6 separate regions of the Homo sapiens genome follow, and all the other regions are linked to region 2. The links are contacts of gene promoters, found by promoter capture Hi-C in blood cells and fetal thymus (Javierre and others, 2016). All regions are on one chromosome and are shown on one strand. Each heading gives the region's core, a stretch centred on a gene start or on the middle of the fragment in contact. The rest is flanking DNA. Distances are from core to core; before and after follow the strand shown.

The links. The method cuts DNA at HindIII sites, captures the fragments that hold promoters and counts their contacts. A CHiCAGO score of 5 or more calls a contact.
Region 1: the fragment with the promoter of TAF6L here is called in contact with a fragment that was not itself captured in region 2 in 6 of 17 cell types (naive B cells, monocytes, total B cells and 3 more); the score reaches 9.3 in naive B cells.
Region 3: the fragment with the promoter of GANAB here is called in contact with a fragment that was not itself captured in region 2 in 6 of 17 cell types (endothelial precursors, total B cells, M2 macrophages and 3 more); the score reaches 8.1 in endothelial precursors.
Region 4: the fragment with the promoter of UQCC3 here is called in contact with a fragment that was not itself captured in region 2 in 12 of 17 cell types (endothelial precursors, activated CD4 T cells, erythroblasts and 9 more); the score reaches 8.5 in endothelial precursors.
Region 5: the fragment with the promoter of NXF1 here is called in contact with a fragment that was not itself captured in region 2 in 1 of 17 cell types (total B cells); the score reaches 5.4 in total B cells.
Region 6: a contact is called between the fragment with the promoter of HNRNPUL2-BSCL2 here and a fragment that was not itself captured in region 2, in 2 of 17 cell types (monocytes and M0 macrophages). The highest score is 5.8, in monocytes.

The regions. Positions count from the first base shown.
Region 1 is chr11:62,769,462-62,774,317 of GRCh38, forward strand. TAF6L (TATA-box binding protein associated factor 6 like) reads left to right here and starts at 1,935. Exons shown (of 11, transcript NM_006473.4): 1 at 1,935-2,029. It also overlaps a transcript of TMEM223 not described here. RefSeq lists enhancers at 173-222, 2,385-2,524 and a silencer at 1,785-2,194. The HindIII fragment of the contact is 6,431 bases long and covers 1,586-4,856 here.
Region 2 is chr11:62,388,134-62,392,774 of GRCh38, forward strand. ASRGL1 (asparaginase and isoaspartyl peptidase 1) reads left to right here. Exons shown (of 7, transcript NM_001083926.2): 5 at 1,000-1,118; 6 at 3,389-3,499; 7 at 3,946-4,641. The coding sequence ends at 4,151. Among named protein-coding and RNA genes, the nearest start is that of SCGB1A1, 29 kb to the right of the region's middle. The HindIII fragment of the contact is 391 bases long and covers 2,095-2,485 here.
Region 3 is chr11:62,644,214-62,648,869 of GRCh38, forward strand. It overlaps GANAB (glucosidase II alpha subunit), which reads right to left and starts at 2,400. Exons shown (of 24, transcript NM_198334.3): 1 at 2,349-2,400. The coding sequence starts at 2,386. INTS5 (integrator complex subunit 5) reads right to left here. Exons shown (of 2, transcript NM_030628.2): 2 at 2,635-4,656. The coding sequence ends at 2,807. RefSeq lists enhancers at 599-1,406, 1,722-1,881 and a silencer at 2,492-2,571. The HindIII fragment of the contact is 15,573 bases long and covers 1-4,656 here.
Region 4 is chr11:62,670,422-62,675,202 of GRCh38, forward strand. It overlaps UQCC3 (ubiquinol-cytochrome c reductase complex assembly factor 3), which reads left to right and starts at 1,252. Exons shown (of 2, transcript NM_001085372.3): 1 at 1,252-1,444; 2 at 1,532-3,265. The coding sequence starts at 1,325. The coding sequence ends at 1,693. It overlaps LBHD1 (LBH domain containing 1), which reads right to left and starts at 1,846. Exons shown (of 7, transcript NM_024099.5): 1 at 1,143-1,846. RefSeq lists enhancers at 1-677, 678-1,417, 1,418-2,159, 1,526-1,685 and a silencer at 1,926-2,055. The HindIII fragment of the contact is 2,853 bases long and covers 58-2,910 here.
Region 5 is chr11:62,803,832-62,808,503 of GRCh38, forward strand. NXF1 (nuclear RNA export factor 1) reads right to left here and starts at 1,609. Exons shown (of 21, transcript NM_006362.5): 1 at 1,498-1,609; 2 at 1-147. The coding sequence starts at 1,525. STX5 (syntaxin 5) reads right to left here. Exons shown (of 11, transcript NM_003164.5): 11 at 3,029-3,797. The coding sequence ends at 3,638. RefSeq lists enhancers at 1,402-1,901, 1,868-2,057, 2,078-2,127. The HindIII fragment of the contact is 11,555 bases long and covers 1-4,021 here.
Region 6 is chr11:62,725,198-62,729,567 of GRCh38, forward strand. HNRNPUL2-BSCL2 (HNRNPUL2-BSCL2 readthrough (NMD candidate)) reads right to left here and starts at 2,187. Exons shown (of 24, transcript NR_037946.1): 1 at 1,422-2,187. HNRNPUL2 (heterogeneous nuclear ribonucleoprotein U like 2) reads right to left here and starts at 2,260. Exons shown (of 14, transcript NM_001079559.3): 1 at 1,422-2,260. The coding sequence starts at 1,959. It overlaps TTC9C (tetratricopeptide repeat domain 9C), which reads left to right and starts at 3,289. Exons shown (of 3, transcript NM_173810.4): 1 at 3,289-3,889. The coding sequence starts at 3,652. RefSeq lists silencers at 1,701-2,080, 2,251-2,410 and enhancers at 2,671-2,720, 2,971-3,170, 3,561-3,670. The HindIII fragment of the contact is 17,995 bases long and covers 1-4,370 here.

The DNA.
Region 1 (4,856 bases), core at 685-3,184, 380 kb after region 2:
ATTTGAACCTGGGAGGTGGAGGTTGTAGTGAGCCAAGATTGCGCCACTGCACTCCAGCCTGGGCAACAGGGTGTTACTCCGTCTCAAAAAAAGGAAAAAAGAAAAAAAGTCTGACACCAAAGCCATCATAGTTCTTGCCAGGCATTGGGTGTGTGGAGCGAGCCACCTTTCTCCCATCTGTGGCCATGGAGGTCTCACTACTGCCTTCCCTGGTTCCTGCCTCCACTCAGATTGGGAGCAAATGAGCTCCAGACAGGTTGGATACAGGTTCACTACATCTAATAGGTCCCGGGCAGTCCCGGTCTCCCTCCCATCTTCTAGTGTCTCCAAGGTTGCTGATGGCTGTCCAGAACAGTAAACCTAAGCAAGGAGGTCAGCCAGCTGCCCAGGTCTGGCTAAGCTGACTTCAGGCTCAGTCAGACCTTAGAGGAGAGCGCCCTCTCTCTTTCCCTTAACGCACAGGTGGGCAGACACTTGAAACCACTTCTAATATGGTTCTGAATATGAGTGGAAGAGACTCAGCAGGGTCACATTCTCCTTAGGTGGGGTTGCCATGGCAACCACAGTCGCATCCATCTGGCTTTGCCAGCTCGGGTCCCAGGGGATTTTCTTTTCCAGCGGCAGCAGCATCTAACCCTGAGAGGGGGAAAGAGAAAAAATGTGTACATTCATGCTCCCTTGCAGAATGTTCCCACAGTTCACTCAGTGCAAACTACCCCATCTTGGGTGAACTTAAAGGAATTCACTGTATGCCTTGTGACATGTGAGGGAAAGAAAGTTTCTCTCTTTTTTTTTTGAGACGGAGATTCACTCTTGTTGGCCAGGTTGGAGTGCAGTGGCGCGATCTCGGCTCACCACAACCTCCGCCTCCCGGGTTCAAGCAATTCTCCTGCCTCAGCCTCCCGAGTAGCTGCGATTACAGGCATGTGCCAACACACCCGGCTAATTTTGTATTTTTAGTTGAGATGGATTTTTCTCCATGTTGATCAGGCTGGTCTTGAACTCCCGACCCCAGGTGATCCCCCGCCTCGGCCTCTCAAAATGTTGGGATTACAGGCGTGAGCCACCGCGCCCGGCCGGGAAAGAAGTTTAACCTCCAACTCTGCCAGGGACTCTCACAGACATTAATTTACAACAACCCTGTGAAGTGCGCATTATTACTCCATATTAGGTAATTTGCCCAAAGGCAGTGTCAGAATTTTAACCCAGGTCGGTCTGATTCCAAATACCATCCTTTACTCACTAAGCCCACTGCTTATCAATTAAGAACTGCCCAAGTAGCTGCTATTGCAGTGGGAGTTGGAGAAAGAGAGCTGTCAGTGTGCGTGTCCAACGGTCATGCAAGGCGAGGTAGGCCAGGGCTTGTATTTGGTTCACAGGCGTGGGGAGAATGCGAAGTAGGTGCAGAAAGAGCAGAACCCTGGAGTCCGGAGCTTGCACGGGATGTTCGGCCGGGTCAGAAGTCCCTTCTGCCTGCCGAGAACACCTACCGAGAGCCCCATCTATCCCTTCAGGAAGGGGAAGTGGCATGTGATGTTGGGGAGGTAGGCCGGGCAGGAAAACTAAGCCAGACACCAAAATCTAAAGCTTTGCTGCAGTCGCGAAAATGCGGGTGCTCAGAAACTCGCGAGCAAACAAGACAAAGAAAATCAAGACGCTGTCTTTGAGACTGTTTATTTCCTCGTTACTATTGTGGTGGTAAAAAAAATAAAATATGCTTATTAAACGTGTGTTAAAACAATACACACCTACTCGCAAACGTAGCAAGAGAGGTTGCTTTAAGAAGCGGGAATCTTCAGCGTCACGTGACCGCCGGTCTCTACAGTCTGTTCACACTGGCCAATCAAGAGCCAGGAAGCCTCCTGGAGGGCCGGAAACTTTCCAAGGCGCCCGCCGACTGGCTGTATTGGGGAGGGCGGGGCCGGGGCCCCGGGAGAGGGAATGAGTGTGAGCTCGTGAGTGGGCGCCGCCGCCACCGCCCCCGCCGCCGTCGTCTCGGTAGCAGCCTTCGCCACGCCGGGGTCTTCAGGTGAGCAGGCCTTGCTCTGGTCCAAGGACTCCCCATTCCCGACGCCGACTGCTTACTCACCAGTCTTGGAGCCCGCACCGCGAGGGCCCGCCCCCTTGGCTGACCACGTGACCCAAGTTCAGTGACCCCTGACCTCCTCCCCCCGCGCACCCCCTCCCCGATCTGGGCTGGGCTAGGCCGGGTGGGAGGATGCGCGTTGCCGAGGCCCGGCCCGCGGAGGTCAGTTCCCACGCCTCCTCTCCAGCGTGACTAGTGGCTGAGGATGCGGAGGAGAGGAGGCTGAGGAGCGGGAGACTTTGGTCACAGTCTAGATTTCGTGTACGGTCATATAATAGGGAAACTCCCTCCGTGCCTTTCGCGCTGGTGGACTAAATGCTCCCATTTTACAGATAGGGAAACTGCAGCTTCACAACGATCTATTGGCGGGTCTAGGGTCACCAAGGGGTGGGTCTCCAATCCATGTCTTTGGGGTGGGATCCAGGCCTTGTTCCCCATACAGCTGGCGGCTCCTGAATGCGGTATAGAGTAAAGATTAGGAGCAAGGGGTTGAGTCCTTGCTCCCCCTCCCTACTTACTCAGTGCTTACTTCATGATCTTGGAGAAGTCATGGAACATTTAGCCTCTGAGGTTTGATTTCCTTGCCTGTGAAATAGACGAAATACATAATAATATCTTATTATTGAGAATATAGTGAAGTAATCCATATAAAGCACTTAGCTGTGTCTCAGGCATAGTACAGTGCTATTCGTGGCCGGGCGCGGTGGCTCACGCCTGTAATCCTAGCACTTTGGGAGGCCGAGGCACCTGGATTGCCTGAGCTCAGGAGTTCGAGGCCAGCCTGGGCAACACGGTGAAACCTCGTCTCTACTAAAAATACAAAAAATTAGCTGGGCATGGCGGCGTATGCCTGTAGTCCTAGCTACTCGGGAGGCTGAGGCAGGAGAATTGCTTGAACCAGGGAGGCAGAGGTTGTAGTGAGCCGAGATCACGCCACTGTACTCCAGCCTGGGTGACAGAGCGAGACTGTGTCTCCAAAAAAAAAAAAAAAGCTCGTCGGGCCAGGTGCGGTGGCTCTCACGCCTGTAATTTCAGCACTTTGGAGGCCGAGGTGGGCGGATCACCTGAGGTCAGGAGTTCCAGACCAGCTTGGCTACCATGGCGAAACTCCATCCCTACTAAAAATACAAAAATTAGCCAGGTGTGGCGGCACAGGCCTGTAATCCCAGCTACTCGGGAAGCGGAGGTTTTAGTGAGCCGAGATCAAGCCACTGCACTCCAGCCTGGGTGACAGAGTGAGACATCAGACATCATCTCCAAAAAAAAAAAAAAAGAATAGTTCTTCTTTCTTTCTTTTAGAAGATCTTTTTTTTTTGTTTGTTTTTGTTTTTTGTTTTGTGTTTTTTTTGAGACTGAGTTTAGCTCTGTCATCCAGGCTGGAGTGCAGTGGTGCAATCTCGGCTCACTGCAGCCTCTGCCTCCTGGGTTCAAGTGATTCTCCTGCCTCAGCCTCCTGGGTAATTTTTTGTATTTTTAGTAGAGACAGGGTTTCACCGTGTTAGCCAGGATGGTCTTCATCTCCTGACCTCGTGATCCACCAGCTTCGGCCTCCCAAAGTGCTGGGATTACAGGCGTGAGCCACCATGCCTGGCCTATAATTACAAATTTTTTTTTTTTTGAGATGGAGTCTTGCTCTGTCGCCCAGGCTGGAGTGCAGTGGTGCGATCTTGGCTCACTACAACCTCCACCTCCCGGGTTCAAGCAATTCTCCTGCCTCAGCCTCCGGAGTAGCTGGGACTACAGGCGCGGACCACCATGCCTAGCTAATTTTTGTATTTTTAGTAGAGACGAGGTTTCACCATATTGTCCAGGCTGGTCTAGAACTCCTGACCTTGTGATCCACCCGCCTTGGCTTCCCAAAGTGCTGGGATTACAGATGAGCCACTGCGCCCGGCCTACAATTTTTTTTTTTTTTTTGAGACGGAGTTTTCCCCTTGTTACCCAGAATGGAGTGCACTGGTGCGATCTTGACTCACTGCAACCTCTGTCTCACGGGTTCAAGCGATTCTCCTGCCTCAGCCTTGCGAGTAGCTGGGATTACAGGCATGTGCCACCACACCTGGCTAATTTTGTATTTGTAGTAGAGATGGGGGTTTTTCTATGTTGGTCAGGCTGGTCTTGAACTCCTGACCTCAGGTGATTCGCCCGCCTTGGCCTCCGAAAGTGCTGGGATTAGAGGCGTGAGCCACTGGGTCCAGCTACAAATTCTTACGACTGGTTTGGAGGCAGAATGCAAGGACATTGGAGGATCTAGGAAGACATCCCTGAGCAAGTGACATTTGAACTGAAATCTGAAGGAGTGAGTAGCAGTTCACTAGACAAAGGGATTGGGGGTGGAGGACAGGGAGGAGAGAGTTCCAAGTGGAGGAAGCAGTGTTCAAAGGTCCTAAAATAGGTGTATTTGAGGAACTGAAAGGAGGACACAGGTGGGAATACAGAACACAAGAAAGTAGGAGATAAGAGGTAAGAGGTATTGCAGAAGTAGGCAGTACATGCAGAGCCTCCAGAGCCATTGTTCAGATTTGTTCTTTATTTCTTTTTTTTTTTGAGACGGAGTCTTGCTCTGTTGCCCAGGCTGGAGTGCAGTGGCGTGATCTCGGCTCACTGCAATCTCCGCCTCCTGGGTTCACGCCATTCTCCTGCCTCAGCCTCCCGAGTAGCTGGGACTACAGGCGCCCGCCACCAAGCCCAGCTAATTTTTTGTATTTTTAGTAGAGATGGGGTTTCACCGTGTTAACCAGGATGGTCTGGATCTCCTGACCTTGTGATC
Region 2 (4,641 bases), core at 1,040-3,539:
ACAATGGTAAGTACTTGTGTATCTAAACATAGAAGTACAGTAAAAATAGAGGATTATAATCTCATGGGACCACCATCCTATATGCAGTCTGTTGATCAAAACATCATAGGTGGCACATGACTGTATTCGAGAATTCATAATAAAATGTTAGGGGAAAATTAACGGATTTGATCTTTACGACAACCCCATGCACAGGGTCCATAGGCAGGCAGCATCAGCGACACCCGGGAGGTTGTCAGAAACGCAGGATCAGCCAGGCACAGTGGCTCACGCCTGTAACCCCAGCACTTTGGGAGTCCAAGGCAGGCGTATCACCTGAGCTCAGAGGTTTGAGACCAGCCTGGCCAAGATGATGATGAAACCCTGTCTCTACTAAAAATATAAAAATTACCCAGGTGTGGTGGTGCATGCCTGTAGTCCCAGCTACTTGGGAGGCTGAGGCAGGAGAATCACTTGAACCCGGGAGGCAGAGGTTGCCGTGAGCCAAGATTGTGCCACTGCACTGCAGCCTGGGCGACAAAGTGAGACTTCATCTCAAAAAAAAAAAAAAAAAAAAAGCAGGATTTTGGGTCCCAGCCTGTATCTACCAAGTCACTTTTTCCTTTCCTTTCTCCTCTTGGTGGCAGCTTCAGAGTCTCTGTGGGCCCAAGCACCCCAGGAATTCTTATACACACTAAAGTTTGAGAAGCACTCTTACTTTTATCCCCATTTTATGATGGGGACAAAGAGACACAAAATAAAACTTAGCATCACAGCTAGAAAACGGTGGTGTTGGGATTGGATGTACTCTTAAAGCTGAGGTGTGGAGGAGTGTCCAGCAATCCACCTGTAACTTACACGTAGAATGAGAAGCAGCAGGTTCTTTCTAGAATGTTGGAATTAAATGGGTGCCCCATCAACATATAACATGAAACTTTAAGTGGTTTTAAGGTACATTGTTGGTTATGGTGTTCATTCTCATTTTCAGCCTGTCACTTTTTTTCTGTTTATTTTTGGCAGAAACTTGGGAACCGTGGGTGCTGTTGCCTTGGACTGCAAAGGGAATGTAGCCTACGCAACCTCCACAGGCGGTATCGTTAATAAAATGGTCGGCCGCGTTGGGGACTCACCGTGTCTAGGTAGGACCAAGGGATGCCTCCTGCCCCTTCCCCTCTTCTCCCGCCCTCAGGCTTTCCTCACTCTCTATTCCCTGCCCCTCTCCGTTTCTTGCTGCGTTCCCTTTCTGCTTTTGGTGCAGCTCCAGGATGTCTGGGAGTGACAATGGGGTTGGAAGGGGTTGTTCGGGGTGCTGCCTTGAGAGGGTGTTTGTATCTGGCGCCACTGTTTTTACTAGATTGCATGCCTTTTTGGAACAACTTGGGGAGAGAAGTGGAGACAGGGATGCTAACGTTGCCCCCAGTCTACCCTGTCGTGATTCTGTCTTCTCTTTAGCCACAGTTTCAGGATCTGCAGACTTACTTGAGTAAGACTTACTCCCGAGACATGGGCTCTGATTAGCAATCTGAGAAATCTGAGACTGCAGTTGTTAGATCTGAGCAGCATGAAAGTGACATACTTCTACAGACACATTATAGATTGAGATGTTGTTTACATTAACGGGGAAGCACGCCATCTCATTCCCAGGAGTGGGTGAGAGGCAGGGCTGGGGGGCTGTATGTTTCACTCCGTGCAGACTTTCACACTTGTCATGCAGGAATCCTCATGAACCCCCACAGGTGACTGAAGTTTTGAGAAGCAGCTAAATTGTTCCATCTGCCCTAAAGAGCAGCTTATTCTTTTAGAGGAAAACTAGCCCTACCTTCCCTTTTTAATGTGTTGCTCTAGTCTTTAGTAATAATCTACACTCTCGACAATTCTTGATACCCTTTTTCTGTCATGAACTCAGAGACACTGGAAGCTTCCTTAAAAAGAGTAGAGGCTTGGTAACTCCTCTTCTCCTTGGTATATCACCCAAGAGATGTGAAGTAGTCTACCTTTCTTTCTCCTTGGCAAAAATCCCACCAAACTGTGCCTGGTCAGTAGTGCAGCTTGCTTCAGCTGCGTTCAGACCAGGCCACAGGGCCACTCCAGGTTAGATCCTAGAAATTAATTTTAAGCTTGAGTTACAGTGGTAAATCTTGACAAGAAAAGGCATAAGCTAAATTCTCAGAACTCTCTGTCCAGCTGTGAGCACCAGGTGTGCTCTGCCTGGCCTTCTGAGGAGCCTCCCCAAGGAGCACTGCCACTGGCCAGGCCCCTGCCTGGACAGTCATGGGGGACGGTACTAGGCTCAGCAGTGGTCACCTCAGGCAATGCACTTGTCCTGAGAAGTGCATGTGGCGGGGAGGACAGCTTCACACGCCCGATGCCTGTGCCAGGACCACCCTTGGAGACACCTGGCCTTCTGTGGTCCTAGAGTAACTGAAAAGTAAGCAAAGACTTGGCTGCTTCCAAATATTAGGGCACTTTGACACCATGGAACCCGGTCAGTTAATTCCCCAGCAGAAGCTTATAAGAAAAAGTAAAGGCGCCTCCTCCCACTGCAGCAGTTCATTGGCTGTCCAGTGTCAGCTCCCTCCAGAACCAGAGCCAGGGATTATCTGCCTTTGAGAACCTCTGGGGCCTTGTGACAATCCAATGCAGCATCTCAACTCCTGAGTCCTTGCCCCATGTCCAGCATCAATAAGTAAGGCAAATGTCAATCTTCTGTGCTTCTGTATCAACTGTGGGAGGGTAAAGGCGAATCCTTCCAAGGCTAAAGGACTCTGAGGCTGGTAGCTGTGTGTGAACAGATACAAGAATGACTCAGAGAAGGCTGTAAGGTTGCTTAATCCAAGCCCAAAATAAGGAAGAAATCTTATCAAAGTAGCTTTCACTCCAGACCCCCACTTAAGTGGATAGCCCAGAATAGTTCCCTCAGGTCCAATTATGCCCACCCTCAACAAATATAACTGCCCTCCATTAGACAGTGTGCATGGATGTTAGGTTGTGGGTATCATTTTCCCCAAATCACTGGAACATGATGGCCTTGCTAGAGATCCATATAATGCAGTCATGCTGTTTCTTCCTCCATAGTGTGTGGGGCATGAGGAGGAGACAGGGAGAGGGTGGCTTCATTGAGCAAAAAGGAATGGCTGTGCTTTGGGGCCAAGGAGATGCTGTCCTGCTGTAGCTGCTCTGTGAAAGGTCAGGCCTGCCCCTCTGAGGCTCCCTTTATCCTCCTAAATTCTGGGGCATCTACATGACGCTTTCTAGTCCACCTTTGCCTCCGCAGATCATGGCTACTAACCTGACCTTTGTCGGTACTTGAGCACCCTTCGCGATTTAACTTTCATGTAGCGTCCGACTTCTAATATGGATTTGAATTTCTTGACTGTTACTGCTCAGAACAATCACCCTTTTTGAGCAGGAGCTGGAGGTTATGCCGACAATGACATCGGAGCCGTCTCAACCACAGGGCATGGGGAAAGCATCCTGAAGGTGAACCTGGCTAGACTCACCCTGTTCCACATAGAACAAGGTACACAGACCACAGGACAAGTAAAATAATTTGTGAAGATAAGTGCATAGAAGGTATTTGATAAGTAAGCGCATGGAGAAGTGTAGGAAACCCTTTCCTGTTGGCTACAGATGTTGCTTTCAGGCCGTTAACACCTTGTTTTGACTCTCCGCCTTCCCTTAGGTCTGGAATGGTAGAGCATTGAGTACTGTTATCTTCCACATCTCAGGAGAAGGGGGCAGTAGAGAGACATTGAGCCTGGATGTGGGAGGGAAGACCCCTCTGCTCAGGCTGATGCTAGGGCGCTGTCTCAGGGCAAGGAGGTGAGGACCCTCCTTTTAAGCATTCAGGCGTTCATTTACCAAAAATCCTTGCTAGCTCACTTTGGCATTTCAAATGGCAAGTGATTTTCCCATGAGATTCCTTTCAGTAATGTGTGTTGTTTCTCAACCCTTCCTTGTTTTCAGGAAAGACGGTAGAAGAGGCTGCGGACCTATCGTTGGGTTATATGAAGTCAAGGGTTAAAGGTTTAGGTGGCCTCATCGTGGTTAGCAAAACAGGAGACTGGGTGGCAAAGTGGACCTCCACCTCCATGCCCTGGGCAGCCGCCAAGGACGGCAAGCTGCACTTCGGAATTGATCCTGACGATACTACTATCACCGACCTTCCCTAAGCCGCTGGAAGATTGTATTCCAGATGCTAGCTTAGAGGTCAAGTACAGTCTCCTCATGAGACATAGCCTAATCAATTAGATCTAGAATTGGAAAAATTGTCCCGTCTGTCACTTGTTTTGTTGCCTTAATAAGCATCTGAATGTTTGGTTGTGGGGCGGGTTCTGAAGCGATGAGAGAAATGCCCGTATTAGGAGGATTACTTGAGCCCAGGAGGTCAAAGCTGAGGTGAGCCATGATTACTCCACTGCACTCCAGCCTGGGCAACAGAGCCAGGCCCTGTATCAAAAAAAAAAAAAAAAAGAAAAGGGAAAAAAGAAAGAAAGCAGCAGCATGATCCTGACATGACAGATGTGGGAGACCCACAGCCTGCAGACACTGTGGGCTGGAAGGTGGGAAGGGAGGGGCCGGTGGAGGTGGAGCTGTTTGAAAGTGACACAGCAGCAGTAGAAGCAGTGGTGGGCGAAGCCCAGGTGACCCTCAGAACGTTGC
Region 3 (4,656 bases), core at 1,150-3,649, 260 kb after region 2:
GATTACAGGTGTGAGCCATCGTGCCCGGCTGACACCACATTTTAAACATGCTCTCCCAGTGACACTGATATGGGCAGAATACGAGCATACTCTGAGAAAGTGTTTCAAACTGGGGGTGGGAGGGTTCTTCTAAGCAATAAAGTTTTACAACCAGCCAGGCACAGTGGCTCACGTCTATAATCCTAGCACTTTGGGAGGTCAAAAAGGGAAGATTGGGCAACACAGCAAGACCTCGTCTCTACTTAAAAAAAAAAAAGAGTAGCAAGGCATGGTGGCAGGTGCCTGTAGTCCCAGCTAATCAGGAGGCTGAAGCCGGAGGACTGCCTGAACGCAAGAGTTTGAGGCTGCATGAGCTACGATTGCACCACTGCTCTCCAGCCTGGGCCACAGCACAAGACTCTGTCTCAAAAAAGTAAATTAATTAAGACTGGTCAATGGGGTGTCTACTAAAAATACAAAAATTAGCTGGGCACGGTGGCACACGTCTGTAATCCCAGGACTCGGGAGGATGAGGCAGGAGAATCGCTTGAACTCGGGAGGTGGAAGCTGGAGTAAGCCGAGATTGCACCCCTGCACTCCATCCTAGGCAACAGAGCGAGACCCTGTTTCAATAAGTAAACAAACAAATAAATAAATAAATAAAATTTGACAACCTATAATAAGGTAACTAAAGACAGGGTCTATTATACACATTGTATCTAGTTATCTAGCATTAGCTTCAGCATCTGCTTGAAAGCTAAAAGAAAATTACCAGAAATGAGATCACAGAGTGTACTATGATCTCATCACAGGACTCTCCTCCAGCTCCAGAGGAATGTACGAAACAACTGTTCCACAGCAGGCCAGACAGAAAAATGAAGAAAACACTAGGCACTGTGGTTTAATAGGCCAAGCAGAATAAATGCTACCACAAAACTCCATAGCAAGGCATGCGGCACAGGTCCTGCAGTGAGTGACCTGAGTGACTGCAACAGGCACTCTTGGCCACTGACCCACGTCCACCTGCCAAAAGCAGCAGTAAATAGAAGTACAGTGAGTTGAGGCCGGGCGCGGTGGCTCACGCCTGTAATCCCAGCACTTTGGGAGGCCGAGGCGGGTGGATCACGAGGTCAAGAGATCGAGATCATCCTCACCAACATAGTGAAACCCCGTCTCTACTAAAAATACAAAAAAATAGCCAGGCGTGGTGGCGGGTGCCTGTAGTCCCAGCTACTCGGGAGGCTGAGGCAGGAGAATGGCGTGAACCCAGGAGGCGGAGCTTGCAGTGAGCCGAGATCTCGCCACTGCACTCCAGCCTGGGCAACAGAGCGAGACTCTGTCTCTCAAAAAAAAAAAAAAAAGACGTACAGTGAGTTAAATACCCTCTGGGGCCCTATTTGCACAGTCTGTAAAATTGGTTCGGAAAGATGCCAATGGAGATAGGATTCCTAAAGCATCTTTCAGATATGACCTGTTGGAGGGCCCTAAGGAATTCACGGCGGCCTTGACCACCCCAAGAGAGGTGTTCATAGGCCAAAGTCAGGAATAAGCTGCAGGGCAAGTTGCACGCATTTATTGTTTCAGATCACAGGCTCCGAGGGAACTGAGTTTATGATCCACGCTTTCTTCATCGCTTTGGAGAGTACACGCCTACCCCACCCCAGTATATCCGTTAGGTCCTAGTAAACATTTGTGGCACTGGTGATATGTTTCGAATCTTTTTTTTTCCCCAGTAATATAAACCCGAGAGCGTGGACCAAGCCATTCGATTACATGTTGTGTTTGAGCAACACCATCCACGCCGTGAGCTTACTGGACCCTGGGCCGTGCCCAGCGACCGTGGACACTGAACTAAGCCAGAGCTGGTGCTCACGTGAAGACAAGGGCAGAGGAGGATTCGGAGCTCTACAGGGTAGAGCCAGAAGGGTAGTACAGGCTTAACTGCTGGCCCGGTGCTTCCAGCTCAGCCGAGGGGCCGCGGGGCCGCAGGCTGCATTCCCCGAGGCCAGGCCGCATCTTTTCCCCCGCCCCGACGACCCCGCGCACTGCAGGAAGGGGGCGGCGACGTTGACCGCCGCAAGCAGCCAAAGGAGGGCGGCGGCTGAGAGCGGCCAAGACCAAGAAAGACGCACAGCTGTGGCTTTACTAAACCGCCGGGCGGGAGCCCGGAGCCCCACAGGCAAGGCCCCCAGCGTCGCTCGGATCTACCACGGGGAGACCGGAGGCGTCTGAGGCCGCCTCCAGAGGAACAAAGGTTCCTCACGAGGCCGGGGGTGGCAGAGTGTCAAGAGACACACAGGAAGGAGTGGAATGGGACTTGGGGGATCTGGGGGCGTCCCGGGCGCGCCCCCAGATTCCGGGCTCCTCACCGCCTCCTACGCGCCGCCACTGCCGCTACCGCCGCCATCTTGTGCAGAGTTTGCTCCTTGACCCCAAACCTCCCGCCCCATCGCGCGCGCTCAGCCACGTATCCTAGTTCCCGCCCCTTCCGGCCTTATGATTGGTTCGACCTGAGCGCCGCCGGGCAGCTGTCTCATTGGTAGAGTGCGCACTCCAAATTATCGCAGGGGGCGGGGCTTCAGGCCAGGGGCGGGAACGTCCAGAGCCAGGCGCTGTCAGACTTTGCACGCTCTCAGCATGACAGAAGCACTGGACTGGTTTTCTCAAGTTGGCAAATTTTATTTAGAAAAAAAAAAGTGGGAGAGAAAAAAGTGACAGCGCTCTTTAGACCAAGGACTTAGAAGAGAAACCTCCACCCTTCCGGAGCACGTTAGTCCCTTCCCTCTCTCACTGCTCAACCTCCCTGGGCTTCCAGAGCAAGAAAAGGCTACGTCCCCTGTCGAAGGAGAGTGGACGGTGAAGGTGCCTGGAAACGGCCAGAGAAAAGACCTAGGCGGTCGATGTTGCGGTGGAGGACACTGTGCAGCACAGCCAGATGGGGTCCACCCTCACCTCCACCCTCCCTGGAGAAGTCCCGAATGAAGCGACCCCGCTCTGATTGGAAGATGAACTTCTGAGGCAAGGGCCCATGCTCCCGGAGAAAACCCCAGACACTGAGCAGCAGCAGACGCACCTCGAAAGGTGCCAGTTGGCTAAATACTTCATGCATATTACCCAGGGCCGGAGGCAGGAGGCTTCCCTCAGCCATGACAGCCACTAAGGTGCAGGATGCCTCCAGGTGCCAGGGGGAGTGGGTCGTGTCAGGGTGGCGAGAGGCTTCCCAATGGCCCAAGAGGGCGGCCAGCAGCCCCCGAAGCAGCACGGAACAGTAGCACAGGGCTGGGGGTGCAGCTGCTACCAGCTTTAACAGCTCAAAGAGCAGGGGCTGTTCGCGGAAGCGCCGGCCAATGCGGAGATCCCGCTCCACGGTGGCCCGGGCGTGTTCCTCGGGGGGCCAGGCCAGCTCTGCACCAGCTGCATCGGGACACACACTCTCCACCAAGGTCACTGCCACTGCTTTGGCTGCCTCTGGACTCAAGATGGGTGCCCCCCAGCATTCCCCACATTCAGTGCCCCCTGGGGCACTGCAGCAGTGAACCAGGAGGCTGAGGAGGCTCTGGGTGTTATAGATCACTTCCTGCTGATTTCGTGACTGGACAAACTTGGGTGGCTTTAAGCCACGGCCGATGACTCCAGCATGGAAAACTGACCAAATCCCTCCAGGACCTGGCACAGCTGCAGTGTGCCTCCGGTTAGTGTCCAACAGGGAGGCAGAAGCCAAAGAAGCTGAAACAACTGAGAGAGTCTCATTGTCCCCATCTACTTGCCCACCAAACAGTTCTGTGTTGCCTCGATGTAAGGCTCCTTCAACCAGCAGCTGCAGGACAGCCTTGAGCCCAGCTGGGGATGTCTGAGACAGGCGGGTGAGAAGCTGACAGGCTGAGGCCACACCTGGGGGTCCATGCAGCCTCAGAGAGGCAAAGAAGCGGTGCACCCCAGCCCTTACCAGTCCCAGGAGCTGGGAGGGGGATAAGGCTTCAGAAGGAAAGGGACAAATGGCCAGGAGAGAGGCAGCAGCTTCAGCTACTTCCTCCTCAGGATGTAGCAGGAGAGGAGCCAGGTCAGACAGATGGGCTGAGGCAGATTCCCCAAAGTGCGCCCCTAGGGCTGCAGGGCCCTCGCCACCCTGCTGTTCCCACCCTACTAGCAGTGCCAAGTTGCGCAGGAACCGGGCCGTGAAGGGAGGCTGTAATGTCCCTGCATGCACCCGAGCCAGACAGCTTCGGAAAGCCAGGGGCAGGAGGCCAGAGAGGCTGACCACTAGCCCTGCATATAACTGGGTGGCCAAACTCAACTCTTCAGGGCTTCGGGCTCGGCTCAGCAGATGGCCCAAGGCCTCAGGTCCACAGCTAGGCCGGGTATAGACAGACAGCAGGCCCAAGAGCTGGTGCTGCCAGAGGAAGCGCTTCCGTTCCAATCGTAACGTCTCTCCACACAGCTCTCCAACATGGTTTTTGAGCGCATCTAAAAAGGGCACCAAGCGGGGAGGTGGGGGCGGGCCTAGCACCCCTTCCCCAGGAGACCCTCCCCGGTGATGAACCAGTTTTTGCAGGTGCAGCAGCAGCAGCTGGATTAGCCGGTCACAAGCCTCACGCACGGTGTCTGGCACAGCCAGGCCCTGGGTGGTAATGACCGAAGCAGGCATAGCTGTGTCCACCAGGAACTGCAGCAAGCGGT
Region 4 (4,781 bases), core at 2-2,501, 280 kb after region 2:
CTTTACATATAACTAATTTAATTATCCTAAAACTGTGAGACAAGTACTGTTGTTATAAGCTTCATTTTCTGATGCAGAAACCGGGGCACAAGAACTTGCCTATAATCAGTCACACAGCTAAGAGGTGTTTTCTTCTGTAAAGCAGAATTCAGTATGTTACACGAATCCAGCCTTTTAGTGGTTGAAAACAAAGCAAAACAGCCGGGCGCGGTGGCTCACACCTGTAATCCCAGCACTTTGGGAGGCCGAGGTGGGCGGATTGGGCGGATCACGAGGTCAGGAGTTCGAGACCAGCCTGACCTACATAGTGAAACTCTTTCTCTACTAAAAATACAAAAAATTAGCCGGCCGTGGTGGCGGGCGCCTGTAGTCCCAGCTACTCGGGAGGCTGAGGCAGGAGAATGGCGTGAACCCGGGAGGCAGAGCTTGCAGTGAGCCGAGATCACGCCACTGCACTCCAGCTGGGCAACAGAGTGAGACTCTGTCTCAAAAAGCAAAAAAGAAAACGAAGCAAAACAAAAAGCAATACCAGCCGGGCGTGGTGGTGCACGCCTGTAATCCCAGCTATCCGGGAGGTTGAGGCAGGAGGATCGCTTGGGCCCTGGAAGTCGAGGCTTCAGTGAGCCATGATCGCGCCACTGCACTCCAGCCCTGGGCGACAGAGCGAGACCTTGTCTCCAAAAACAAACAAAACCACGCCCACACACTAACAACAACAACAAAACCAAAAAAAAACCCAAACAATACCAAGTGTGTACCATGACGAGAAAAGGAATAGGTTGTTTGTAAAATAAATGTTAAAGATAAGTAACTATTACCCATTTCTCCAACCAGTATACTTGACTTTGAGTGTTTGTTCCAGAGTTGAGGGGATGGAGAGGGATGTGTATGTGTGTAGATGCCCTCCATGCGCTGTGTTGAAAACGCGCGGGTGACTGCAGGAAACCACAGAGCACAGCTCGGGCCTCTACTGATCGGGAAACGTCGGAAGACAGAAAAATGGGCAATCATAAAACCCACGGCAACCATGAAGACACGCACTCTCCCCCTAGCAATCCCACCCCGGAATTGAGGACACAGGGTCCCCGCGCTCAGCCCTTGGTGCCAGCACTTCTTGGACACCTCAACCCCCTCAGCTAAACCTGAGATCCAAGCGCTCCGGATTCCAAACGTTTCCTCGAGCAGGTCCTCTCTAGCCGGCCGCTTATCTATGGTTTCTGCTATAGGGCGCTCTAGCCTGCGCCAAGGGGTAGTGAGACCGCGCGGCAACAGCTTGCGGCTGCGGGGAGCTCCCGTGGGCGCTCCGCTGGCTGTGCAGGCGGCCATGGATTCCTTGCGGAAAATGCTGATCTCAGTCGCAATGCTGGGCGCAGGGGCTGGCGTGGGCTACGCGCTCCTCGTTATCGTGACCCCGGGAGAGCGGCGGAAGCAGGAAATGCTAAAGGTAGAAGCAACTGGTAGTCCCGAGGAAGGGTGGGCGGGTGGAGAGCCCCGGACTGGAGCTCCTGCGAACTCCCCTTCCTGCCCTCAGGAGATGCCACTGCAGGACCCAAGGAGCAGGGAGGAGGCGGCCAGGACCCAGCAGCTATTGCTGGCCACTCTGCAGGAGGCAGCGACCACGCAGGAGAACGTGGCCTGGAGGAAGAACTGGATGGTTGGCGGCGAAGGCGGCGCCGGCGGGAGGTCACCGTGAGACCGGACTTGCCTCCGTGGGCGCCGGACCTTGGCTTGGGCGCAGGAATCCGAGGCAGCCTTTCTCCTTCGTGGGCCCAGCGGAGAGTCCGGACCGAGATACCATGCCAGGACTCTCCGGGGTCCTGTGAGCTGCCGTCGGGTGAGCACGTTTCCCCCAAACCCTGGACTGACTGCTTTAAGGTCCGCAAGGCGGGCCAGGGCCGAGACGCGAGTCGGATGTGGTGAACTGAAAGAACCAATAAAATCATGTTCCTCCACCCAGAATGAGCCCTGCAGTCGACACCTACCAATGCTTAGAGACGCGTGGTCGGTGCTGGGGGCGCGGCCTGGAGCTGCTGCCTGTCCCACCCCACCAGAAGAGGCTGATCCCGATAGGTATCTGACCACATTTTTTTTTTTTTTTTTTTTTTGAGACGGAGTCAATGTCACCCAGGCTGGAGTGCAGTGGCACGATCTCGGCTCACTGCAACCTCCGCCCCTGGGTTCCAGCAATTCTCCTGCCTCAGCTTCCCGAGTAGCCGGGATCACAAGTGCGCGCCACCAAGCCCAGCTAACTTTTGTGTTTTTAGTTGAGACAGGGTTCACCATGTTGGCTAGACTGGTCTCGAACTCCAGACCCAGGTGATCCGCCCGCCTCGGCCTCCCAAAGGGCTGGGATTACAGGCGTGAACCACCTCGCCCTGCCGCGGCCACATTTTTTCTTTTTTTTGAGATGGAGTCTTGCTCTTGTCACCCAGGCAGGAGTGCAGTGGCGCAATCTTGGCTCACTGCAACCTCTGCCTCCTGGGTTCAAGCTGTTCTCCTTACTCAGCCTCCCATGTAGCTGGGATTACAGGCGTCCGCAACCACGCCCGGCTGATATTAGTAGTTTTAGTAGAGGCGGGTTTCACCATGTGGCCAGGCTGATCTCGAACTCCTGACCTCAGGCAGTTCACCCGTCTCAGCCTCCCAAAGTGCTGGGATTAGAGGCGTGAGCCACTGCGCCCGGCCAACCACATTTTCAAAACAGGTCATGTGGTGTCAGGTTGGAGTGTACTTCCAGGGATAACCGTGGGACATTCTTGAAATCTGAACTATCCTGGGAAGTCTTGAAGTAATGGATGCCTATAGTGGACACTCAGGACTCCTGTCCTTGGAGCGAGATTGGAGGGGCATCTAGCACTTAACATATGCCACAATGCTTTCTGTGGCCATTATTTAACCTCTGGTTAAACAAGCTTAGGAGGCTGACTTACTAGTAGTAAAAGGAGTGTGCTTTGAGTCACAGATCCTGGTTGAACTCCAGCATGTTACAAACCTCAGCCCTGTTCTATGAAAGGTCATAACTACGAGGATTATTGTAAAACATTAATTTAGAAATGTAAAGTGGTCCCCAATCTCTGGATCTGGTCAGGATTTATTGGAGCTGCCACTGAGGGGATTAAATAAGTGGGGTCAAAGCCCCACAGCCTAGTCAACCAAGTTGCTCCTCTTTTGTCTATCCTGTGGTTCCCAAGCAAGACTGCAATTGAAAAAAAGGCTGCTGTTATTAAAGTCAGAACACCAAATAAAGCTTTTTTTTTTTTTTTGAGACAGAATTTCTGTGTTGTTGCCCACGCTGGAGTGCAATGGAGCGATCTCAACTCAATGCAACCTCCGCCTCCTGGGTTCAAGCGATTCTCCTGCCTCAGCCTCTCCAGTAGCTGGGACTACAGGGGTGCGCCACTATGCCAGGATAATCTTTGTATTTTTAGTAGATACAGGGTTTCACCATGTTGGCCAGGCTGGTCTTGAACTCCTGACCTCAGGTGATCTGCCCGCCTCAACCTCCCAAAGTGCTGGGATTACAAGCATGACCCGCCGTGCCTGGCCCAAATAAAGCTTTCTAACACTGGGGTGTAAACCCAGATATAAGTATTGGTGCTCTTTTCAGCTGCTGGAACACATGTTACATGTGATCTTTACAGAGTAACTGTGGCCTTTCTCCTAGTCCAGGAAGGAGTGGAGTCAGGAGCAGTTTGACAGGACAGCAGGGTGGGGTGATCAGCAGCCAGAGGGACTATCATAGATAAGCTCATCAGTGCTTCTTGGTTGGTTTTAAAAAGCAGAGAGAAGCGCCAACATGGTGAGACCCTGTATCTACTAAAAATACAAAAATTAGCTGGGCATGGCGGCACGTGCCTGTGGTCCCAGCTACTCGGGAGGCTGAGGCAGGAGAATCGCTTGAACTCAGGAGGCAGAGGTTACGGTGAGCCGAGATCGTGCCACTGCACTCCAGCCTGGGTAACAGAGTGAGGAGATGTCTCAAAAAAAAAAAACAAAAAAACAAAACCCTTTTAGCCCAGCATTTTGGGAGGCTGAGACAGGTGGATCTTGAGGTCAGGAGTTCAAGACCAGCCTGGCCAACATGGTGAAACCCCATCTCTACTAAAAAATACAAAGAATTAGCTGGGTGTGGTGGCACACACCTGCAATCCCAGCTACTCGAGAGGCTGAGGCAGAATTGCTTGAACCCGGCAGACGTTGGTTATAATGAGCCGAGATTGCACCACTGTACTACAGCCTGGGATCTAGAGCAAGACTCCACCTCAAATAAGTAAATAAAATTATCCTTTTAGTAGCTAATGCTTACTGGGGACTTATTAGGTACCAGGCACTATGCTAAAGCATCTTATACCAGCATTATGTAACCCTCATGACAATCCCAAGAAATAGGCACTATTCCTATTCTATTAAGAAGCTAGGTTTTCTGGGTGAGATGTGAAATAACTTAAATGACATCACTAAGGTAGCAAAGCTGAAGGAAAAGTATAAGAAGGATGTTCCTGACTATAAGTAGAAAGGTTGGTTTGATGATGCAAAGGGTCCTGCTAAAGTTGCCTGGAAAAAGGTGGAAGAGGAAGATGAAGAGGAGGAGGATGAATAAAGAAACTGTTTATCTGGCCAGGCACAGTGGCTCAAGACTGTAATCCCAGCACTTTGGGAGGCAGAGGCGGGCGGATCATCTGAGGTCAGGAGTTCAAGACCAACCTGACCAACAAGGTGAAACCCTGTCTCTTAAAAAAAAAAAAAAAAAAAAATTAGCTGGGCGTGGTGGTGCATGCCTG
Region 5 (4,672 bases), core at 359-2,858, 420 kb after region 2:
CATCTCCATCATCTTCCTCAAGGCGGGAAGACCGAATACCAGAACCGCCTCTTCCAGACCTACGGTTTCCTTCACCATATTTCCACCGGAAGGGACCCCGGCCTTTCTTCTTTCTTTGAGGGAAATTAACGCGTTCATCATCGTGTTCTAGAGTTAGAAACAGGAACACAAATTAGAAGTAAGTAACTGGTCCGGTTTGGTGTGGCAATCATAGCTTCTAGTACTCTGAACTATTGGAAGAGATACATACTAACGACAGAGGCCATCTCCATGCAAACTCCGCTCCCTATCCACAGGAAAGAACCCTCTCTGTGGGAGGGCAGCATCAGGGAAAAGTTACTGGAAAACTGTGTAGGGCTTTTGAAAAATGAAGTAGAAACTGGAATTAGAGAGAAGCAGGATGTAGAAATGTGAGACCCAAAAGTGTAACTGAACACAAATCAGACCTCTGAAAGCCACCTGAAATCTGCCACTCAGTACTTTGTCTATACAGTGCAGACGCCAGTTACAAATATGACCAGTTTAAGGATCCTCTAAAAATTCTCCTTGTTCTCAAACTGCCACTTTGAAGTTTTGTGAGGAGCTCTTCGTTTCCATGGCCAGAAATGTCCTTTAACTCAGGAGACAAATTCTAGACTCAGGCTCTAGTGGCAGTGCCAGGCTAGGGTGCTTAACCAGGGACCCTGGAATGCTCTCCAGGAAGATGACCTTCTGATTCATGCTGTGTAGGACTGGCGTCTTAAAAAAGGTCCCTAACTCCCAAAAGAGGTCTGCCTAATACCCAGCACTCTGTAAACAATGAATCTCAACAAATGACCCTAGGAAAAAAGAACATAGAAGGCGCAGCTAACATTCACTGAGAACTTTCTCCAGTGCCGGCCACTATGCTTCAGGCACTTGATAGGAATGATCTCATTTCCCCTCCCCACACACACTCTTAAGAAATGCTGTTGTTATTCCACATTAAGGGGGTGGAAAACGAGAGTTTTAAATTCACGGTTTCAACCTCCACCACGCACTCCTAACTTACTACAAAGAACTAACACCCAGTGTAGTGTTCAGACTAGAATATCCAGTTGATGTGTAAGTCTCGAATATTAAGCCAAAGCCCAGGCCCGAGAGTTCAAGACCGACTGGACGCAGTAAAAAATAGGGCATCAGGGCAGCCCACGAGCAGGGCACTCACTCACATTAAAGGAAGAGTCAGGCCGCCAAACCTAACTGACAGGCATCAACCACCCACAAAGTTCAAAGGAATCCCGTCACCCTACCCCCGAGCCATCCGCTCCGAGCCGCAGGTCCCCCAACACCAGGATGCCAGCAGGAATCCAGGAGTCAACAACTCGGGTGTCCACCTCGAGTGCCCGGCCCCCCGCGCGCCGCTCCCCGCGGACGCCGGGCCCCTAGCGGCCTCACGCCCCGGGGGCTGAGGCCTAGGCCGGCGCCGCCCACCCGCGCCCCAGATAGCCAGTTCCCGACCCGAAGACCAGCACTTACCGCTGTACGACTTCCCCTCGTCCGCCATGCCACAGCGAAGATCAAGGGCGGGCTCAGGCGCTGGCCGCTACGCCGGCAAACAACCTAACTCCCAAGCGCTCAGGACCGAAGTGTCCCTACGCCGGGCGCCACCGCATTTATACAGCAAAGCACGTCGCGCGCCGCTGACGTCCCAGGCTGTGGGCGGTGCCGCCGCCCGGAGAAAGCGCGGCCCCCTGCGCGTGCGCACACTTAAGGCCGTCGTTCGAGGGGCGGGGCCTGGCCCTCCACGCCCCGCCCAAGACCTGAACTTGCGGAACCCCGGCTGGCAGCCAGCATGTCCCCGCACCTTTTCATCTGTCCGCTGACGCTGCCCTGGCAGCTTCAGAGTTAGTGCTAGAGCACAGTGCTGCCGCCGCAGCCCAGAACTCAGTGAGGAAGGGGGCCGCACAAAGGGCTTCAGAGGAATGGAGACCGCGCCTCCAGGTGGGAGTGATGGCTCAGACCCCTACCGGAATCTAGCCAGTGTTTCAGCTCGGCTCCTTGTCTATACCTCGCTTTCTTCGCCTATAAGATGGATTAACAAATCACGAAGTTGAGAATTAGAATGTGAGCTCGAACGTTGACTAATTAAGGGCTTTTTTTCCTCGAGGGCTTGACTCGGCAGGTACTATGCCTGGCACATGGTAAAAACTCAACATATATTTGTGAAATAAATGAATTTGTGTTATGAATTTCCCCCACCCCGCCCCGCCCTGAGTTGCTGAGTCAAATGATACGACATCTGTCAGGGGTTTGGCGAGCATTGTCTTCACAGACCTTCCATCAATGGCGTCCCCTACTAGAAACCCATCGTGTCAACGGGGCAGACAGTGAAGCTCACCAGCAGTGGCAACTTGCTGGAGATGCCGAGGAGGACATTTTAAAATATCAGGGCCTTGGGCTCTCCTAGACCCCCAAAAGCACCACCACCAGCCCCTGACTGTTGTCTCTATAGCTTCAACTTCCTTTGGAATGTATGAGACAGGGGCACTCGAGTGACCTCAGAATGTGGTTGTGAGTCTCGGTCAGGAAGAACAAAGCACACTAATCTCCCTGGACGGTGGGTATTCTGGGCAGGTGTCTCCATTCTCTGTGACTGGCTTTGATTTGGTGAAGTGCTTGGAGGGAATCAAAAGCCTCAACTGGAGTTGGGAACAAATTCTTCACCTTCCACTCCTGGAAGCAGGCAGAGCTTCTGCCTCGCTTAGCTCAAGGAAGAATTACGGCCAAATAGTTGGAGGATACAGATGAAACAGGTCCAAACACTGCTTGAGATAGTCCTGGAAGTTGCCCCCAATCAGGGACCCCCTCTGGGATCCTGCTCCCCTGTGTGAAAGGAAGTTTCCACGCTAATGAAGTGTTGCAACACTTGGTTCTCCCCTGCCTAGAGGCAGCTGTGTGTCAGAGCCCAAAATAGCCTGTGTCAGCAGTGATACCTGGCAGAGCCATTAGCCCAACCCTTTCAGTTCTGGTACTGGGCAGTGGGCTCTCTCCACTCGCTGCCTAGGCCCTTCGACGCTCCCACCCAGAAATGATGACATGGCTAGTGAGGCTGACAGTCTTGCTGTAATTGGGAGAAAACGAGCTGCAGCACATTTGGCAGATTGAGTCACCAGCAGCCAATGTCAGGGGTTGTGCAGGCAGCTGAAGGGCTCAGGGCTCCCTGCCTCACATGGTGAAAGAGGAAGAAAGAGGTCAATTGGGAAAATTGGTCCCTGGGGCTGCTTCCTCTCTTCACTCACAGGAAGGTGGGTAAGGGCATCATCTCCCTTTGCTGCCAACGCTTCCTTTGGGAGAGGCTGGAGAGGGTTTATAAAAATCTCCTAGTGGAAACAACCTCCCCCACTGGCCCCCAGCTGGCCTCTGCTCCCTTCCAGTCACTTCACAGCAGAGTTCAAATCTAGAACCCTGTGTGTTTCATAGGCCTGAGGGTGGTGGGGGGAGGACAGGGTGGCCAGAGGCAAGGGGTGGGGGATCAGGGGCAGTGGTCATTCTTAGCAGTTCCAGGGAAACAGGGCCTTTCTCCCAAGTACCCTGCACAGGCTCAGTGGCAGCACTGGCCACTTGCCTTCCCAGGAGGGTCCCAAACCCCAACAGAGTGCCTCAGAGTAGAGAGGGTTCAAGCAAGGAAGACCACAAAGATGATGAAGAAGACAATGAGGATGAGGAAGATTTTGACCATGAGCCACCGGTTGGAGGTGACAGACTGGAAGTACTTGAGGATCTCTGAATGGGCGGCCTCAACGTCCAGCTGGGCTCCTAGCACGTTCTCGTCGATCCTGGGGACAAGGCCGGGAGAAGAGGAAACAAAAGGACACTGGATTAAAAAGAATGCTGTTGAAGTCCATTTATTGACATGGAAAGATGGTCACAATATGATCCCATTCTTATATATATTTGTGTATAGAAAAGGCTTTGGAAGGGTACTATAAACAAGTTATTTCTGGTTTGAAAACCAACTCTGCCATTTATTAGCTTAAGACTCTAAGTTAGTCTAACTTCAAGCTTCATTTTCCTCACCGGCAAAATGAGGATAACCCAAACCCTACCTTCTCTCAGGCTACTGTCTGTCTTCAATGAGTTAGTATAAAGTCCCTAACCCACAAGAGCCCCGAAAATGTTAGTTACAATTTTTCCTCATCAGTATTTACATTTTTATCTGGTGAGTATGTATTATATTTATTGTAAGGGGAAAAATGTTCACAGACCATTGCAGTCAGGAAATCATGGTTCTGAGTGAAAAAGGAAAACATAATGACACGGACAGGAAATCAGGGGATAAAAAAAGCTCTATGGCCAACCATGGTGGCTCAGGCCAGTAATCCCAGCACTTTGGGAGGCTGAGGTGGGCAGATGGCTTGAGCTCACGAGTTTGAGACCAGCCTAGGCAACATGGCAAAACCCCATCTCTGCAAAAAATACAAAAATTAGCTGGGTGTGCTGGTGTGACCCTACAGTCCCAGCTACTCGGGAGGCTGAGGTGGGAGGATAGCTTGAACCCAGGAGGTTGAGGAGCTTGATGCTGCAGTGAGATTGTGCCACTGCACTCCAGCATGGGTGACATAGCAAGACTGCCTCAGGGGGAAAAAAAAAAAAAAACACCAAAAAAAAAGGTATATGGACCCTAGTTTTGGCCAGGCTGTAATCCCAGCAC
Region 6 (4,370 bases), core at 937-3,436, 340 kb after region 2:
TTCAATATATATTTTTTTGAGACAGAGTCTCGTTCTGTCGCCCAGGCTGGAGTGTAGTGGCGCGATCTCAGCTCACCGCAACCTCCGCCTCCCGGGTTCAAGCCATTCTCCCGCCTCAGCCTCCCAAGAAGCTGGGATTACCGGCACCCGCCATCACGCCCGGCTAATATTTTGTATTTTTACTAGAGACAGGGGTTTCACCATGTTGACCAGGCTGGTCTCAAACTCCTGACCTCAGGTGATCCACCCGCCTGGCCTCCCAAAGTGCCAGGATTACAGGCGTGAGCCACCACCCCCAGCCTATCCTTCAATTATTTTTTTATCTGCTCTTTGGGATATACATAAGTCAAAGGTTATGTAATGGGATTTTTGCTCCGGGACACAGGACAAACAATCTGCAAGTTGCATGTGATTGTTGTACAATGGGTTCCGATTATACCATGACTCTCCATAGTGGCCTAAAAATATTACTAACAAAAGAACTGAGGCCACCCACTTTATAGTAAGACTTATCCTCCCTACTCGGACACACACTGTTATGGATCAGTTCTAACCATCCAATCACTTCAAAAGAAAGGAGAAAGGTCACTAACTCCCTGGGGCGATTCTACAACACACCTCTTCCACAAGGTTACTCAACGGACCCAACAGCACCTCAGTCATTACCATTCAGGAACCGAGGGACCTGAAACGTAAAAGACTAGCACCAGGTGTTCAGCAAATCTACAAATATGCCTATCCACGGACTCAGTGGGACAATTAAAATTTAATCATAATCCAAGCAAGATAAAAACCCTAGCCAAGTAACGTTAACTAACTCTAAATGAACTAGATTAAGATTTTTCTCTTCACTGGTTAACTATTAAACTCGACACTGTTACACTAGAGGCTCTCCCTTACAGCTCAAAGAGGAGCAAGGTTGGATTTTCAGATTCTCTGTGGCTCAAGCTCTGGTAACATGCTTTTAATGGAACGGACTTTGACGGACTTCGATTTTTGCTTAACATTTTTACGGCGAAAAAGTTAGGTCAGGTAGCCCAAAGACCTGACCCTCTAACTGTGGGCCTAGTTCTCCGTGTAATCCCCAATTGCTTAGCACTTTCTCAGCTAAGAAAAATATAACAAGCACCGTGGGAGACTGTTCCACAGGTAGCTCACAAGTAGTTCGCATGCAAAATCACTCACTGCCATCCACTATCACCAAGGAACCAAGTTAGGCAGGAACCTTCCTCCTGCAAAGAGTAGGGCCACGAGAGGCGGCCTAACCCCTCAGAAAGGTGGGTAGAGAATGAAAGGAGTTCCATCAAATGGCACTTTGAGGCAAGCGAGAACAAGGACTCGGACCCTGCGGTGCAGGGCGGGGTGCTAGATCAGGGGCGCAGCCGGCAGGTTGGAGCCGGGCTCGGCTGCCAGCTCCTCACCCTGTTCCTCGGCGGCCTTGTCACCCGGCACCTCGGATCCCGGCGTCTCGTCCCCGCTCCGCTCCTCGGGTTCGTCTTCCTCCCTCTTGCCGAGGCCCTGCTCTTCGCCACCATTTACCCCGCCTGACCCGGCCGTGGCCTCCGCCGGCTTCTCGGAAGCATCTGGCTCGGCCGCGGCCTCCATGGCTGCCGCCTCCGGGGGCTCCGGCGGCGGCTGCGCGGCCTGACCCAAGGCTTGAGCAGGGGGTGGCTCCTCGTCCTCGTCCTCAAGCAGCGCCTCCTCGTCCTCCTCCTCCTCCTCTTCGTCCTCCTCCTCGTCCCCGCCCGGGCCGCCGCCCGACGCGGCCACAGGCCGAGGCTCCGCCTTGCAGGCCCCGCCGGGCCCGGCCCCGCCGCCGCCGGCCTCGTCCTCGAGCATCTCGGCGTCCAGCGCCTCCTGCAGCCGCTGCGCCAGATCCACCTTGAGGCCGCGCGAGTCCAGGCCCCGCCGCTGCAGCTCCGACCGCAGCTCGGTCACTTTCAGCCGCTTCACCTCCATCGCCGCCGCCGCCTCCTCCGCCTCCCGCCGCCTCCTCCCCTGCGAACCGTCGACCGAGTCCGACCGCGCAGGCGCCGCCGCCGCCGCCCGCCTCCGCCTCACGCGCCAGCACTGAGCCCGCGCGAGCGAGCGCACGCACGCAGGAGCGGAGGCCGCGCACGGTCCCGCTGCGCAGTGTTTGCTTCTCCTTCGTCTCCCCTCCCCCTTTCGGCTCACGGAGCCCAAAACAACGCAGCAGGGAGCTGTTTCCCCTCCAGGCCCTTGGTTCCCCAGCCGCGGGCAGGCGCGCGCGGAGGACGACGGAGTTCCTCCCGCTTCCTCCCGCCCTCTGGCGCCCCCGGGCCAATCGCCGCCGGTGCTTTTATCGCGCAGCCGCAGTGGAGTCCAAGACGGGCAAGGCTGGCTGCAGCTCAAGTGCCTCGTAGCACGGAAGCGTGTGCGCGCCGGTCTTTCAGTACTTCCAGCCGGGGAGTTCTGCGCAGCCGCCCGGAGCTCCCCGATGCCATGCCCCTCCCACCACCCTTACTTCCGTCTGACTTCCATTTGCTGTGGCGTTTTAGGGGTCGCTAGCCTCTTTTCCCTACTGTCTGTGCTTGCAGCAGTAACGACAAAAAAAAAGTCATTAGAGAATGTGTTGCAACATGTAAGCCTAGTAGCAATTGTTTTTCTGGCTAGGAAGCAAAAGGGCTCCCCAGAACGAAGAAATACTGTAATCCGGGCCCTCCTTTTTCCTCAACGCCTCAACTTCTACCCAGCAACAGAGGCCCTTGAACCCGCCCTTTTTCTCTTATTGGACAACTTGAATCGTCATTTGCCGTTCCGATTGGTCATCCGTGATCGTCCGGATTTTTCCAATTGGCGAAGCTGCCAGGGGAATTTTTTTTTTTTTTTTTTCCCAGGTTGGTCCGCTGAGGAGGCGGGGTCGTTTCTGCGGGATTATTTTTCCGGAGCCTCTTCTGATTGGGTGGTGTGGCGCAATGCGCGCGACCCTCAAGATACCAAACTGTACGCATCTCTGACCCTTTCCTCTCCTTGCTCCTGCTGGTAAACCGAAGCCCAGGAGACTTCCAGGTTTGGGCATCTGCAGAGGGCGAGGAACTGGTCACGGCGCCGGGTGGGCTTGCAGCTGTGACGCTTATGTGGACACCTCAGTGTCGCTGGTGGTTCACCTCGGCTTCCCAGTTTATTTATTGACGTCAACAAATAAATGTTGAATAAGGAAGAAGAGTTAGAATTGCTTGAAGCCCTCTGGAGTTTTAGCACTAGTCCCGCCCACTCCCTTCTACTTCCAGGTCGGGGGGGGGCGGGTCCAATAGAAAGGCGGAAGCCAGTGTCCCAGGCGTTCTCACGCCCGCAACAATTCCTGAGTAGGGCCTTGCTTGAGTTCTTCGGAAAGTCTCATCCACCCCCACATCGCCTCTTTAGGAAGTCACTTAATGTTGGGCTTCATTATTCCCACATCCCTTTCCTTACTACTTGCCTGCACTTCTTGAGAAAAAGACTGCAGAAAGGAGAGGTGGGGCTTTCAGTAGAAACAAGCAAACCGCAGGTCCCTGTGGGGGGACTCTCCAGGAAGAAGGGTAATTTCCTGCCTCCTTAAATTGGCTGCTACTGTCAGTTATTTTGCTCCCAACCCCAGAGCTTCACTTGCTCCTTCACTTCCCAGTTCCGCAAGAACCGTGGGCGACAGTTATGGAGAAGCGTCTGCAGGAGGCTCAGCTGTACAAGGAGGAAGGGAACCAGCGCTACCGGGAAGGGAAGTACCGAGATGCTGTGAGTAGGTACCATCGAGCTCTGCTTCAGCTGCGGGGTCTGGATCCGAGTCTGCCCTCTCCGTTACCTAATCTCGGACCTCAGGGCCCGGCCCTCACGCCTGAACAAGAAAACATATTGCATACCACCCAGACAGACTGCTATAACAATCTAGCTGGTAAGAACGGGGCTAAAGGGTGGCTAGAGAGCATTAAGACAGGAACATGAACATCTGTGAACATTGGGGGAAAAAACGCTGACTTTTTTTTTTTTTTACTGTCATCCATTTATTCTGCCATGAATTGGAATAACCTGTCAATCTGTGCGGCTGTAATTAAGTTGCCATAGAGCAGGGCTTCTCAGACTTCACCTGGAGAGTCTGTTAAAACACAACCTCCTCGGCCCCATCCCCAGAGATTCGGATGGGTCTGACGTGGGGCCTATCAGTTTGCATTTCTTTATTTTTTTATTTTATTTTATTTTATTTTATTTTATTTTATTTTTTTTTGAGATGGAGTCTCGCTCTGTCTCCCAGGCTGGAGTGCACTGGCGCGGTCTGGGCTCACTGCAGCCTCCCCGTCCCGGGTTCAAGCAATTCTCCTGTCTTAGCCTGCCCAGTAGCCGGGATTACAGGCGCCCGCCAGCCACCACGCCCAGCT